Linked DNA regions of Homo sapiens: region 1 is linked to region 2. Evidence: promoter capture Hi-C in human tissues and cell types (Jung and others, 2019). All regions are on one chromosome and are shown on one strand. Each heading gives the region's core, a stretch centred on a gene start or on the middle of the fragment in contact. The rest is flanking DNA. Distances are from core to core; before and after follow the strand shown.

Region 1 (6,668 bases), core at 1,908-4,407, 460 kb before region 2:
GAGGCAAGAGGATCCTTTGAGGCCAGGAGTTTGAGACCAGCCTGGGAAACATAGGGAGACCTGAGCTCTACAGAAAATTAAAAAATTAGCCAGGTGTGGTAGTGCATCCCTGTAGTCCCAGCTATTTAAGAGGGTGATGTGGGAGGATCACTTGTGCCTGGGAGGTTGAGGCTGCAATGAACTGTGACTGTACCATTGCACTCCAGCCTGGGCAACAGAGTGAGACCCTGTCTCAAATAAATAACTAAATAAACAAGTAGGCTGAGTGCGGTGGCTCACGCCTGTAATCTCAGCACTCTGGGAGGCCAAGCCAGGTGGATCACCTGAGGTCAGGAGTCAAGACCAGCCTGGTCAACATGGTGAAACCCCACCTCTACTAAAAAATACAAAAATTAGTCGGGTGTGGTGGCATGCACCTGTAGTCCCAGCTACTTGGGAGGCTGAGGCAGGAGAATCGCTTGAACCAAGGAGGCAGAGGTTGCAGTCAGCCGAGATCATGACACTGCACTCCAGCCAGGGTGACAGAGCAAGACTCCGTCTCAAAAACAAACAAACAAACAGACAAACAAACAAACAAGTAAATAAAATGTGGCAATCAGTCAAAGGACAGTAGCTAAGAACACCCACCAAGTATTGAGCACAAAGACAAATCACACAAGCTCTTTTACTCAGTTTTCTTGTCACTAATGTGGGGGATTAGAGACATTTTAACAGGATTGCCATGAGGACTGAATGGAATTATCCATGTGAAAGTGCAGTCTGTAGCACAGTAGCCTGGATTGATTTAAAAAACAGTGTATTTGGGATGTCACTGATTATGGGGGTGGAAGTGAGGGAGGGACATTGAATAATTCTAAACAGAAATAATCATGGCTGCTCAGTAGTGCAAGGGAGAGCTACTTGAGCTCAGACCCCAGCAGGGTATGATTTTTCTTTCCAAAGGGATTTTCCTTTCTTTTTCTTTTTGTCTTTTTTTGAGGCAGGGTTTTACTTTGTCACCCAGGCTGGAGTACAGTGGCGCAATCTCGGCTCAATGTAGCCTCAACTTCCTGGGCTCCAATGATCCGCCCACCTCAGCCTCTCAAGTAGCTGGAACCACAGGCACACATCAACGTGCCAGCTAATTTTTTGCATTTTTTTTTTGAGAAGGAGTCTCGGTCTGTCGCCCAGGCTGGACTGCAGTGGCACAATCTCGGCTCATTGCAACGTCTGCTTCCCAGATTCAAGCGATTCTCATGGCTGCCTCCTGAGTGCTGCCTCCCAGACTGCTGGGATTACAAGCATGAGCCATCATGCCCTGCAGAAAGGAATTTTTCTTTATTTTTTTTAGAGACAAGGTCTCACTCTGATGCCCAGGCTGGACTCAAACTCCTGGGCTCCAGGATCCTCCCACCTCATCTTCTTGCGCTCAGCCAAAGGAAGTTGAGAAGTACACGAAGCACTCAGATTAGATGACCCAAGCCTAGAGATATGAGCAAGTTGTAGGAAGGAAGGAAAACATATTTTCATCCACCTCATAGGGTTGTTACGAGGACACAGTAAACATACAGTTAATGTTAGCTATTGTTATTATTAGAATGGAGCAAATATTGCATTGTTTGAGAAAAACAAAACTAAGTATATATGAAAGGCACAAATGTCCACTTACAGAACTTTAAAAAATCTTTTTTTTTATGTTTTGAGACACAGTCTCACTCTGTCACCCAGGCTGGAGTACAGTGGCATGATCTTGGCTCACTGCAACCTCCGCCTCCCAGGGTTCAAGCAATTCTTATGCCTCAGCCTCTCAAGTAGCTGGGATTACAGGCACATGCCACCATGCCCGGCTAATTTTTTGTATTTTTAGTAGAGACGGGGTTTCACCATGTTGGCCAGGCTGGTCTCGAACTCCTGACCTCAAAGTGATCTACCCAGCTTGGCCTCCCGAAGTGCTGGGATTACAGGCGACAGCCACCACGCCTGGCCTAGAACTTTTTTAAAGCAGATAAAATCCTCTCAAAATTACCGGAAGAAAAAAAAATCTGAAGAACATATACTTTACTGAAAGACAGAAAACAATATATGCCAAGCAAGCATAACAATAGAAAACAAAACAGAAAGACAGAATGAGAGTCACATCTAATAATTAAAATTATGTGAATGAAATAAACTGTTATTGAAAGAAATATATTTAAATTAGTCCAAAAACAGAATCAGACTACAAGACCCATATCTAAAATCAGAAATCGATAAAACTCAATGTTGTTGACAGTGGGGCAAACATGTCCTTAAATCCAGTGTTGGTAGGAGTAAAATTTCCAGAAGACAGTCAGGTAACTGTATCATAAAATGGACACACCATTGTATTGAACTTGTCCACTTCTAGAAATTACCCTGAGGAGAAAATTGCACAAAAGCAGAACACAGGATGTTTTTCACGTGTAGTTTACAATATTAAACAATGCAAACAACCGAAATGGCCAACAACAGGAGAAAGGTTGCATAAATCATGGTTTGTAAATATTACAAATAGCTGTTGATCATTAACAATCGTGGTGTTAGTCTACGGTTATTGACTTGGAAATCTACCCATTGCATATTCTCAGTAAATGTAGCAATTACAGAATAATATATAAATTATCATCTCACATATGTGAAACTATATTCATATACCTCTAGGTATATATACTGCATAAAGATGTCTAAAGGATATTCACCAAAATTGGTATGGATGCTATGGGCGGTGGGATTTTGGCGGTGACTTTTATTTCCTTCTTATGTTGGGTAAAATCACTGGTCATGAGAAACCCATTTTTCTGTATGTGTCTAAAAATGCATAAGCCTTTAAAATGACTTGGTCAGCCTCCCAAGATCCCATATGTCTGTGTGCTTCGTTCCTGTCATTCTCTTAAAGATAAGCTTTAAGGAGGGGAACATGACTGGTAGCTATCAGGAAAGCCATGCCCTGACTGGCTTCCTGCTCAAAGTGACCAACATGGGCTAGTTACGTAGATCCAGGATTGTGTCATCTCTAGGGCAGGATTGAAAGCCACTTTTAGGACCAGAATTGAAGAGTTACTGAATATAGGCCCTTCTCTGTTTATATATGTATGTACGTTTGTTTGTTTGTTTGTTTGTTTGTTAATCTGCCAACCCCATTCCCAGAACACCTGGTTTGGGATGATGGCATTCCTTCCTTTTTTTTTTTTTTGAGATGAAATCTTGCTCTGTGGTCCAGGCTGGAGTGCAGTGGCGCAATCTCAGCTCACTGCAACCTCTGCCTCCCGGTTCAAGCAGTTCTCCTGTCTCAGCCTCCCAAGTAGTTGGGATTACAGGCACGCACCACCACATCCGGCTAATTTTTGTATTTTTAGTGGAGATGGGGTTTCACCATATTGGTCGGACTAGTCTCGAACTCCCAACCTCAGGTGATCCACCTGCGTTGGCCTCCCAAAGTGCTGGGATTACAGGTGTGAGCCACCGCATCCGATCATGTATGTATGTACTTATTTATATAAAATTTGTCCAGCTGGGTGCGGTGGCTCATGCCTGTAATCCCAGCACTTTGGGAGCCTGAGGTGGGCAGATCATGAGGTCAGGAGTTCGAGACCAGCCTGACCAACATGGTGAAACCCCATCTCTACTAAAAATACAAGGCCAAGCATGTGGCTCACCTCTGTAATCCTAGCACTTTGGGAGGCTGAGGCGGGAGGATCACCTGAGGTTGAGAGTTCGAGACCACCCTGACCAACGTGGAGTAACCCTGTCTCTACTAAAAATACAGAATTAGCTAGGCCTGGTGGCGCATGCCTGTAATCCCAGCTACTAGGGAGGCTAAGGCAGGAGAATCGCTTGAAACTGGGAGGCGGAGGTTGCAGTGAGCCGAAGTTGCACCACTGCACTCCAGCCTGGGCAACAAGAGCAAAACTCTGTCTCAAAAACAAAAAACAAAAACAAAAATTACCCAGGCTTGGTGGTGCGTGCCTGTAATCCCAGCTACTCAGGAGGCTGAGACAGGAGAATTGCTTGAACCCAGGAGGCGGAGGTTGCAGTGAGCCGAGATCGTGGCACTGCACTCCAGCCTAGGCCACAGAGCGAGACTCCATCTCAAAAAAAAAAAAAAAAAAATTTGCAAAGCTTCCATAATGTCTATGAAAGAGCAAGTATGAAAATTTCCCAGCTGGGTGCGGTGGCTCACGCCTGTAATCCCAACACTTTGGGAGACTGAGGCAGGCTGATCACAAGGTCAGGAGTTCAAAACCAGCCTGGCCAACACAGTGAAACCCCGTCTCTACTAAAAATACAAAAAAATTAGCTGGGCGTGGTGGCATGTGCCTGTAGTCCCAGCTACTTGGGAGGCTGAGGCAGGAGAATCGCTTAAACCCGGGAGGTGGAGGTTGCAGTGAGCTGAGATCGCACCACTGCACTCCAGCTTGGGCAACAGAGTGAGACTTAGTCTCAAAAAAAAAAAAAAAAAAAGAGGAAAAAAAAGAAAATTTCCCCAAATTAGAAGGCTACAGTGACTAATTTCTGGGACTTTCTGGGGCTGCTCTGTGAATTGGGCAGCTGCACTGGGTGGCTGGCTGGCTGCTGAGAGTTCTTGCAGTACTGGCCCTGTTTGCAGCAGTGAGACCAAGTGAACCATGGAGGAGCCTCCTAATTCTTTCATTTATTGTTTGCCTTTTTTTTTTTTTGTAAAGCATCAATTGCTTTTGTAAAAACAAAGCTATTTTTTAAAGGACAGAATGGTCAACAGTGTCTGAGTATGATAAGGACTGAGTTGGGTCCAGTGGACTGAGCAACAGGGAAGTAGTGAGTGACCTAGTCAAGAATAGTATCTGTGTGGTGGTGGTGGTGGGGGTGGCTTTAAGAGAGTGAGGGAAGTGAGGAAGTGGAGAGAGAGAGAGTGAGTTTGGACAATTATTTCTGGAAGTCTGGCCGAGAAAAGAAGGCATGAGGTACAGCAAGGGGTGCCTAAAGGGAGGAAGGGGGAGGCAGAAAGAGGTACTAATTTTGTTTGTTTGCTTTGTTTGTATTTGTTTTTACTATTGAAAAGGAGCTAGTAGATAAGTGAATGATTCAGCAGAGAGAGAGACTGCTCCCTAAAAAGGAATCTCTAGAAAGCTGGAAGAGGATAAGAACCAAAGCACCACAGAAGTTAGCCTTCAACAGAATGACAAGCCTTGTAACTGGACGAGAGGAGGAAAGGCCACATACAGATCAAATGGAGGGCTCTCTTTCCAATGAGAACAGACACTGAAATAAAGAGGGCCCTTAGCCGGGTGTGGTGGCTCACACCAGTAATCCCAGCACTTTGGGAGGCCAAGGCAGGAAGATCACTTGAGCCTAGGAGTTTTGAGACCAGCCTGGGCAACATAGGGAGACCTTATCTCTACAAAATAAATAAATAAATAAATAAGGCCCTGCAGGGGCCGGTGCTATTATTTTTAAAAGGAGGGTATAGCTTTTACCACATAGTATTGAACTAGGTGCTCACCCTGTTTGCCCTGAAATGGAAAAGCTGTCTGGGATAGAAACGTTCATTATCTTGACTGCAGTGGTTTCACCAGCATATGCTCATGTTAAAACTCATCAAATTGTACCCTTTAAGTAGGACAATTTATTGTATAACAATTATACCTCAATAAAGCTGGTTGTTATTGCGGGGAGGACTGTTTTGTTTTATTTTGGTTTTTTTCTTACTCTTTGTTTTTGTTGTTGTTTTTAAGCTGGCATGCCTCAGTCAACAGGGGGCATTGTTGTGCATGCCAAGATGGGAAAGTGGTTTTCCCACCTGAATTTCAATTCTACGGCCCTTCTGGCCAGGTGCAGTGGCTCACACCTGTAATCCCAGTACTTTGGGAGGCCGAGGCAGGCGAAATCACCTGAAGTTAACTCAAAATACAAAATTAACCAGATGTAGTGGTGCATGCCTATAGTCCCAGCTACTCTGGAGGCTGAGGCAGGAGAATTGCTGGAACCCCAGTGGCAGAGTTTGCAGTGAATCGAGATCGTGCCATTGCACTCCAGCCTGGGCGACAAGAGCAAAACTCAGTCTCAAAAAAAAAAAATAAATTAAATAAAATAAAATAAATTCTATGGTCCTTCTATTTTTCCTGGGCTTTTCTCAGATGACAGAGCTCTTATTTATAGGCACTAAAAGAAGGTAATTAAATAATTATAGGATGAAAGTATAAGCAAATGGATGTGCAGATGTCTGCTGAAATACTCTTGATGCCTGAGTAGCAAGCACTTTATAAACTCAGCCAGACAAAGGAGGAGATTGCAGGACAAAATCATTTATTCACAGCCATGTGGAAGCCATACATGAGATTCTCTGGTGGTAAAGACTGCAGTTGCTGTCTTCCAGAGAGAAGGTTTTGTTATGCAATTTTTTTTTTTTTCTGAGATGGAGTCTTACTCTGTCGCCCAGGCTGGAGTGCAGCGGCATGACCTTGGCTCACTGCAACCTCCACCTCCCGAGTTCCAGTTATTCTCCTGCCTGAGCCTCCCGAGTAGCTGAGATTACAGGTGTGTGCCACCATGCCTGGCTAATTTTTGTATTTTTAGTAGAGACAGGGTTTTACCATGCTCCCCAGGCTGGTCTCAAACTCCTGGCCTGAAGTGATTCTCCCACCTTGGCTTCCCAAAGTGCTGGGATTACAGGCGTAAACCACTGTGCCTGGCCT
Region 2 (6,119 bases), core at 2,467-4,966:
TTGATGCCTTAAGTTTTCTGAGTCTCAATTAAAAATCTTCCTTTTCTTGATGCATGACAAGTGTAATCAGTACTTGCTCATTTATTTGTCTGTATTTAGTTTATGCTGTACTATTTAATTATCCTTCCAGCGTTTTTTTTTTCTCCTTACAAATATGATACTCTTTAGTGTTAAGCTAAGGCATTGATTCATGTATCTGTCCTTATAATGAATTAATAAACTATTTTCCAGAAATGTGGAATTCTCTTTTGGAACCATTGACCATGACTAGAATTTCCTCAGCCTTTGTGCCCTAGGGATTTTATTTCTTACTGTGATGGGAAATGATGTTGTTGTTGTTTTTGAGATGGGATCTCTCTGTCGCCCAGGCTGGAGTGCAGTGGCACAATCACAGCTCACTGCAGACTCAACTTCCTGGGTTCAAGCAGTCTTGTCACTGTAGCCTCCCTAGTAGCTGGGACTACAGGCACATGCCACCATGCCTGGCTAATATTAAAAAAAATTTTTGTTATAGAGATGTGGTCTCGTTATCTTACCCAGACTGGTCTCGAACTCCTGGGCTAAAACCATCCTCCTGCCCCAGCTTCGAAAAGTGCTCGATTACAAGCATGAGCCACTGCCTCTTGGCCCAAAATAGTGTTTTGTTTGTTTGTTTGTTTGTTTGTTTGTTTTTTCAGACTAATCTCACTTTGTCGCCTAGGCTGGAGTGCAGTGGCATGATCTCGGCTCACTGCAACCTCTGCCTCCCGGGTTCAAGTGATTCTCCTGCCTCAGCCCCCCGAATAGCTGGGATTACAGGCATGCACCACCACACCCGGCTAATTTTTGTATTTTTAGTAGAGACGGGGTTTCACCATGTTAGCCAGGCTGGTCTCAAACTCCTGACCTCAGGTAATCTGCCCGCCTTGGCCTCCCAAAGTGCTGGAATTACAGGCATAAGCCCCTGCGCCCGGCTCAAAATGGTGGTTTTTGAGGGTAAAAAGCAGGTGGTCATGGGAAAGAACTAAACCATCTTCCTCCCTCAACAGGCACTTAGGAAAAAGACGTAAACTTAGGAAAGATGTGTCCTTTGATGGCACTTCCTTAGACTCTCTGGGGATCTCTTTCCATCTGGGCACACATTTCTCTGAACTTTTTTGGGTGCAGGAAAGAGGGAACAACTCCAGAGATTTGGGCTCCACAACTATTCTCCTGTATAACTCTGGTCACCAAAATTACTCATGGCCACACAATCACACACACGTGCACTGTGTGTACAAGCTCAGAGACCCGCACATGCATACTTTGCCTTCACAAACACCCTTGTGTCTGTCCGTTAATGCAAATGTGCACACAGTCTCACACACAAAACTCCACACTCACACCCCACACACATCTTGGCATCACAGTTGGCAGCTGCTGTCTGCTAAGATCTTTACAGAGCCCGGAACATGCTTTCTATTGGAGGGAATCAAGAGCTAGAGGCTGCTTTGCTCAGGACCACCCCCAAAGTGGTGGGCCAGACCCAGAGTTAATTGACAGATCAGACAGAGAGATACTGCACATTTTGCACTCGGCAGAATAGCCATTATTTGCATATCACTCTCAGACCAAGGGTTGTGATAAAGAAGAATTAAACACTTGTCAAAATGAATTTAAAATGACAGCAATTCAAGAGACCAATTTGACCTCTTCAGAGTCCAGGACAAGCCAAGAAGGGGTTGTTGAGAATTCAAGCCCTGCAGGAGGGAGTTCCAGGATTTTAGGCCCAGGGAGGGCCCTTCCCCTCCCTTTCCTAAGGCCAGTAGACCACCACTCCCACCCTTTCTCACAATGAAATCCAATAGGGCTTTGGCACATTGGAGTCCTCCACCTAGAATTTTTCCATTGCTTCCCGCTGTTCACATGCCTCATGTCCTGCTTCTCAGGCTCATCTTCCAGTAGCTGCCCTAGAGTGAACAGTCCTGAGCTATGCCAACCTCATCATTAGTAAACCTGTCCATCTACAGGCACTCTGATTTCTGGAGGCCTGTACTTCCTTACTTATCCGTATCAAAGTTAGTTTTTTGTTTGTTTGTTTGTTTCGAGACGGAGTCTTGCTCTGTCGCCCAGGCTGGAGTGCAATGGTGCAATCTCAGCTCACTGCAACGTTTGCCTCCCGGGTTCAAGCTATTTTCCTGCCTCAGCCTCCCGAGTAGCTGGGATTACAGGCGCCTGCCACCACGCCCGGCTAATTTTTTTGTATTTTTAGTAGAGATGGTGTTTCATCACATTGGTCAGGCTGGTCTCGAACTCCTGACATCAGGTAATCCACCCGCCTCAGCTTCCCAAAGTGCTGGGATTACAGGCGTGAGCCACCGTTAGTTTCGTACATGGTCCCAAAGTTCCAGAGTTGGTATCAAAAGAAAGACTTAGTTTTTCCTCTGCCATCCCAGTCCAGTGCCAAAGGAGCAAATAGCTACATTAGGCCAACTTTTATTATTTATTTATTTATTGAGACAGGGTCTGTGTTGCCCAGGCTGGAATACAGTGGGACTCCAGGCATGCACCGCCATGCTTGGCTAATGTTTGTATTTTTTGTAGAGACAGGTTTTCACCATGTTGCCCAGGCTGGTTTTGAACTCCTGGGTTCAAGTGATCTGCCCACCTCGGCCTCCCAAAGTGCTGGGATTACAGGTGTGAGCCACTAAGCCTAGCCTGCCAGCTTTAATTCTCTAGCTCCTAGAACTTAGTAGCTGCTCAATAATTTTGATGGACTAGTCCATCATGCTGGACTCAACAGAAGACCATTTAATAGAGAGTGGCTGAGATTCAAGATCTCTGAGGGCTAGTATGGGTATGTCTCTGCTAAAAGACATGCTTATCTTCTGTAACATTCTCACGTGGGACCTCTGTTGTCTCCTTATATGTTCTCTGACATGAACGATTGAGGGCCTTCTTTGTGGCACAGAAACGTTACTGGGAATTTTAACTTTCTATGTGCTTTTCCAGTTACCAGGTCATTTGTCAGGACCTCTGCGGTTTAAAGGTCTCTAGGGATGAACAGGAGAGATAAGATTATTTTCATCTTTCAGATGAGCTCAGTGAGAGTGACTGGGCTAGGCAGCAGGCAGAACCCAGGTCGGAAGCCAGGCCCCTTTAGAGCTCTCATTGTCCTGCTGCTGGGTCTGCTCTCTCCAGGCAATCCTCCCCAGCGGAGCGCCAGGACTCCTCGGTCCAGAGAAGCCAAGCTTGCAGCTACAGGATCTATCCTTTGAGTGGAAGGACCAGAAATCCATGGAAAACTGAATCTTTGACAACTTTACGCAGCTTTTTAGAGAATTATCTCTAAAATATGGACTTGGAGGAGGGCGCAGCAGAAAGAGTGGGTCAGAGCAAATCCCGCAGCTGTGTGTCTTTCCGCAGCCCGGACCCACTCCCCAGTCCGCTGGTGTCCACTTCCTCAGCCCCCCAGGTCCCCGGCTGGCCCGCGGGGAGGGGATACCCGGCTGCAGCCCGGGACGGCGCCGGCCGCTCCAGCCACAGTTCAAAGCGCAGGGGGCGCGTCCGCCGCGCAGCCGGGAATGTCCGGCCGCTTAAAGCGCTCGCCGGCTCTTTTGTTCCCCAGACCGGGCCTCCGGGGAGAGGGGGCTGGGGGAGGGGACCGGGAGCAGAGAGGAGGGGGGCGGCGGGCTGGGGAGGAGGGCGGGGCGGCCGCGAGCGGTGCGAGTGTGGAGCGCGCACCCCGGGCGAGGCTGACAGATCGCCCGGGTGGGTGCAAGATGGCGCAAGCGGCGCTCCCCCTGCGCCCCCCGCGCTGCTGAGCAGGCATGCGGCCCCAGTCCCCCACCGCCTGGGCTCGGCCCCGGCCGGAGCCCCAGCCCCGGCCCCGGCGCCGGCCCCGCGGGACGCTGTGAGCCGCGAGAGGCCCGGGAGCCGCGCGTCGCCGAGCCGAGCTGACCGAGAGCCCCATGGCTGTGCAGCGCGCCGCGTCTCCGCGCCGCCCGCCCGCCCCGCTCTGGCCCCGGCTCCTGCTGCCGCTGCTGTTGCTGCTGCTGCCCGCGCCGAGCGAGGGTGAGTGAAAGCGCCCCGGACCGGGCGGTTGCGGACGGAGCCAGGGGAAGGGCGAGCAGGGAGGGAGCGGGCGCGAGGGGCGGACCCGGGGAGAGCGGCGCGGACCTGAGGGCGGACCCCGCGCGGGGGGGACCCTGCGGATCCGGACGGGGAGAGGGTACCAAGGCCGGACTGCTGGGGGCCCTAGGGGCGTGTTGAGGACGGAACCCCCCGGAGGAAGACTGGGGCAGGACCCGGAGCCCAGACTGAGGAGCAAGGAGTGCAGCGAAGCGGGAGCAAGCGGGGCGGGCTGGCGTGGAGACCGAGGGAAACGAGCCAGGGGAGACCGCAAGGCTAAGCGCTGACCGAGGCGGACGAGCTGGGGTGCTGGGTGCCCGGCCGTGGACATAGCCCGAGGCAGCCAAGACAGGGGACAGCAGCCTGGGGAGCGGAGACCGGGACTCTGACGGCTGCACTGGGCGGAGATGGCACGACCTGCATTTGGAGCTGGTACTGGGCTGAGGAGTGCGCGGGAGAGACAGGAGAAGACGAGGGAGATTCCTGGAGGGCGGCGCGTGGCTAGGGAGCGACCCGGGACAGAGCCCGTGAGCCAAGAAGGAGAGGAGAAGCCACCGAAAGCGAGAGCGAGCGAGCCGCGGGGATGCTCACGTGCCCCTGCCCTTCCCCGAAGTGTGCACACGCGGAGACCTTGCCCTGGCTCTCGCGGTCCGCCGGTTCTGCTGCCTGGAGCTCGGCTCTGCTGCCTGGAGCTCGGTCACCACCACTCTGTTCCCTTTAGTGGCTGCAATGGTCCCATCTCCCGGGAGGAGAGTGCAAATCTAGTCCCTTAACCCTCCCACCTCAAGTTCCCCACAGACACTCATCTGGGCTATTCTCTCTCCACTCCTCTCCCAAGAAGTAGAAGCTCGCGTCCGCATCAAGGAAAAACTTTATTCCCGACAGCTATACCAGGGTTGGATTCGGGGCTAAGACGGGTGAACTCACGACATGGGGAGGATGCGCAGGGGTTTGAATAAGTGCGATCCTAAAAAGTCTTAAAACATTACATCTTCCTGGGCCGGGGACGGGGGGAGGGGGGCGCGGGGGGCGCTGGGCGGGGAATGCCTATAACCCCAACGCCCCTCCTTTCTCCCCACCCATTTCCCCATCTCCCTCAGCCAGGGAGGGCCCTAGTCTGCTGGGGAGGGGCCAGCTCCAGGATCGCTAGTTATCTGGAAATGTGAGGAGGGGTCTGTGACTGCCATTTCAGACCAGGTGGGTTCATTCCTCCTCGAGTGGAGTTGTAACTGGTCTGGTAAGTTGTTTGCTGGAGAAGTTGGTGACTTGGCATCATGCCTGGGATTGGAGTGCTTGTCCCTCCAGCCGGGCTTCTGATTCTCTGATTGGCCTTAACCCCATCTATTCTTTGGCCTCCTTCTTTTCCTGCTCATTTCTCTTCTGCAGGAGCAGAGAGGTTGGCTGGAAGTAAAGGTTCTAGGAGCACCCTCTTCCTTGGTTTTGGGAAACCATAGTTGGTGTTTGCTACTCTTCATCTCTCCCTATGACAAAGGCAAAAGGACCAACACCCAGAGTGCCAGAGGAGAGGGGCAATGGGGCCACAACCTAGTCTGTACCCCGGGTACTGGGACCACACACCCTGCTCCCTGCCAGGCATTGGACCAGGCATCTGATGGGTTTTGGCCAGCAAAAAGAAGCATGATTTATTACTATCTCCCTCTGTATTTCTTTAGAACTTTAAATTTTTCATAGTGCCTTTGAGTCTGTTAATCATGTCATACAACCCTATGACCCAAGCTCCATTGTTCTTCTTTGATCTAAACAGATGAGAAATGGGAATCCAGGACATGTTGAATACTTTACCTAAGGTCACACCCTGAAGGTCTGTGAGGCTTCAGTGCTTATCCAGGGTGACCATCGAAGTAGCAGCATCTGTATTGGAGTCAGTCTTGCTTTTGGGTCTCAGTTTTGCAACTACTGACTGTGAGACCCTGGGCAAGTCACTTGACATCTCTGGGCTTCAGTTTTCTTACCTGTGAAAGAGGAAATAGTACAAATAATATCTATCTCTGAGATGGTCTGATGATTAA

Evidence for each region. Contacts are between HindIII fragments. The study calls those that stand out against the background at their distance.
Region 1: a fragment that was not itself captured here is called in contact with the fragment with the promoter of IGDCC3 in region 2 in 1 of the 25 tissues and cell types used here (dorsolateral prefrontal cortex).

Annotation. Positions count from the first base shown.
Region 1 is chr15:65,835,974-65,842,641 of GRCh38, reverse strand. The region is part of intron 1 of LOC105370866 (a long non-coding RNA gene); the gene reads right to left. Among named protein-coding and RNA genes, the nearest start is that of TRQ-CTG1-4, 30 kb to the left of the region's middle. The HindIII fragment of the contact is 5,146 bases long and covers 585-5,730 here.
Region 2 is chr15:65,375,599-65,381,717 of GRCh38, reverse strand. It overlaps IGDCC3 (immunoglobulin superfamily DCC subclass member 3), which reads left to right and starts at 3,716. Exons shown (of 14, transcript NM_004884.4): 1 at 3,716-4,032. The coding sequence starts at 3,930. IGDCC4 (immunoglobulin superfamily DCC subclass member 4) reads left to right here. Exons shown (of 20, transcript NM_020962.3): 20 at 1-234. The HindIII fragment of the contact is 8,726 bases long and covers 1,164-6,119 here.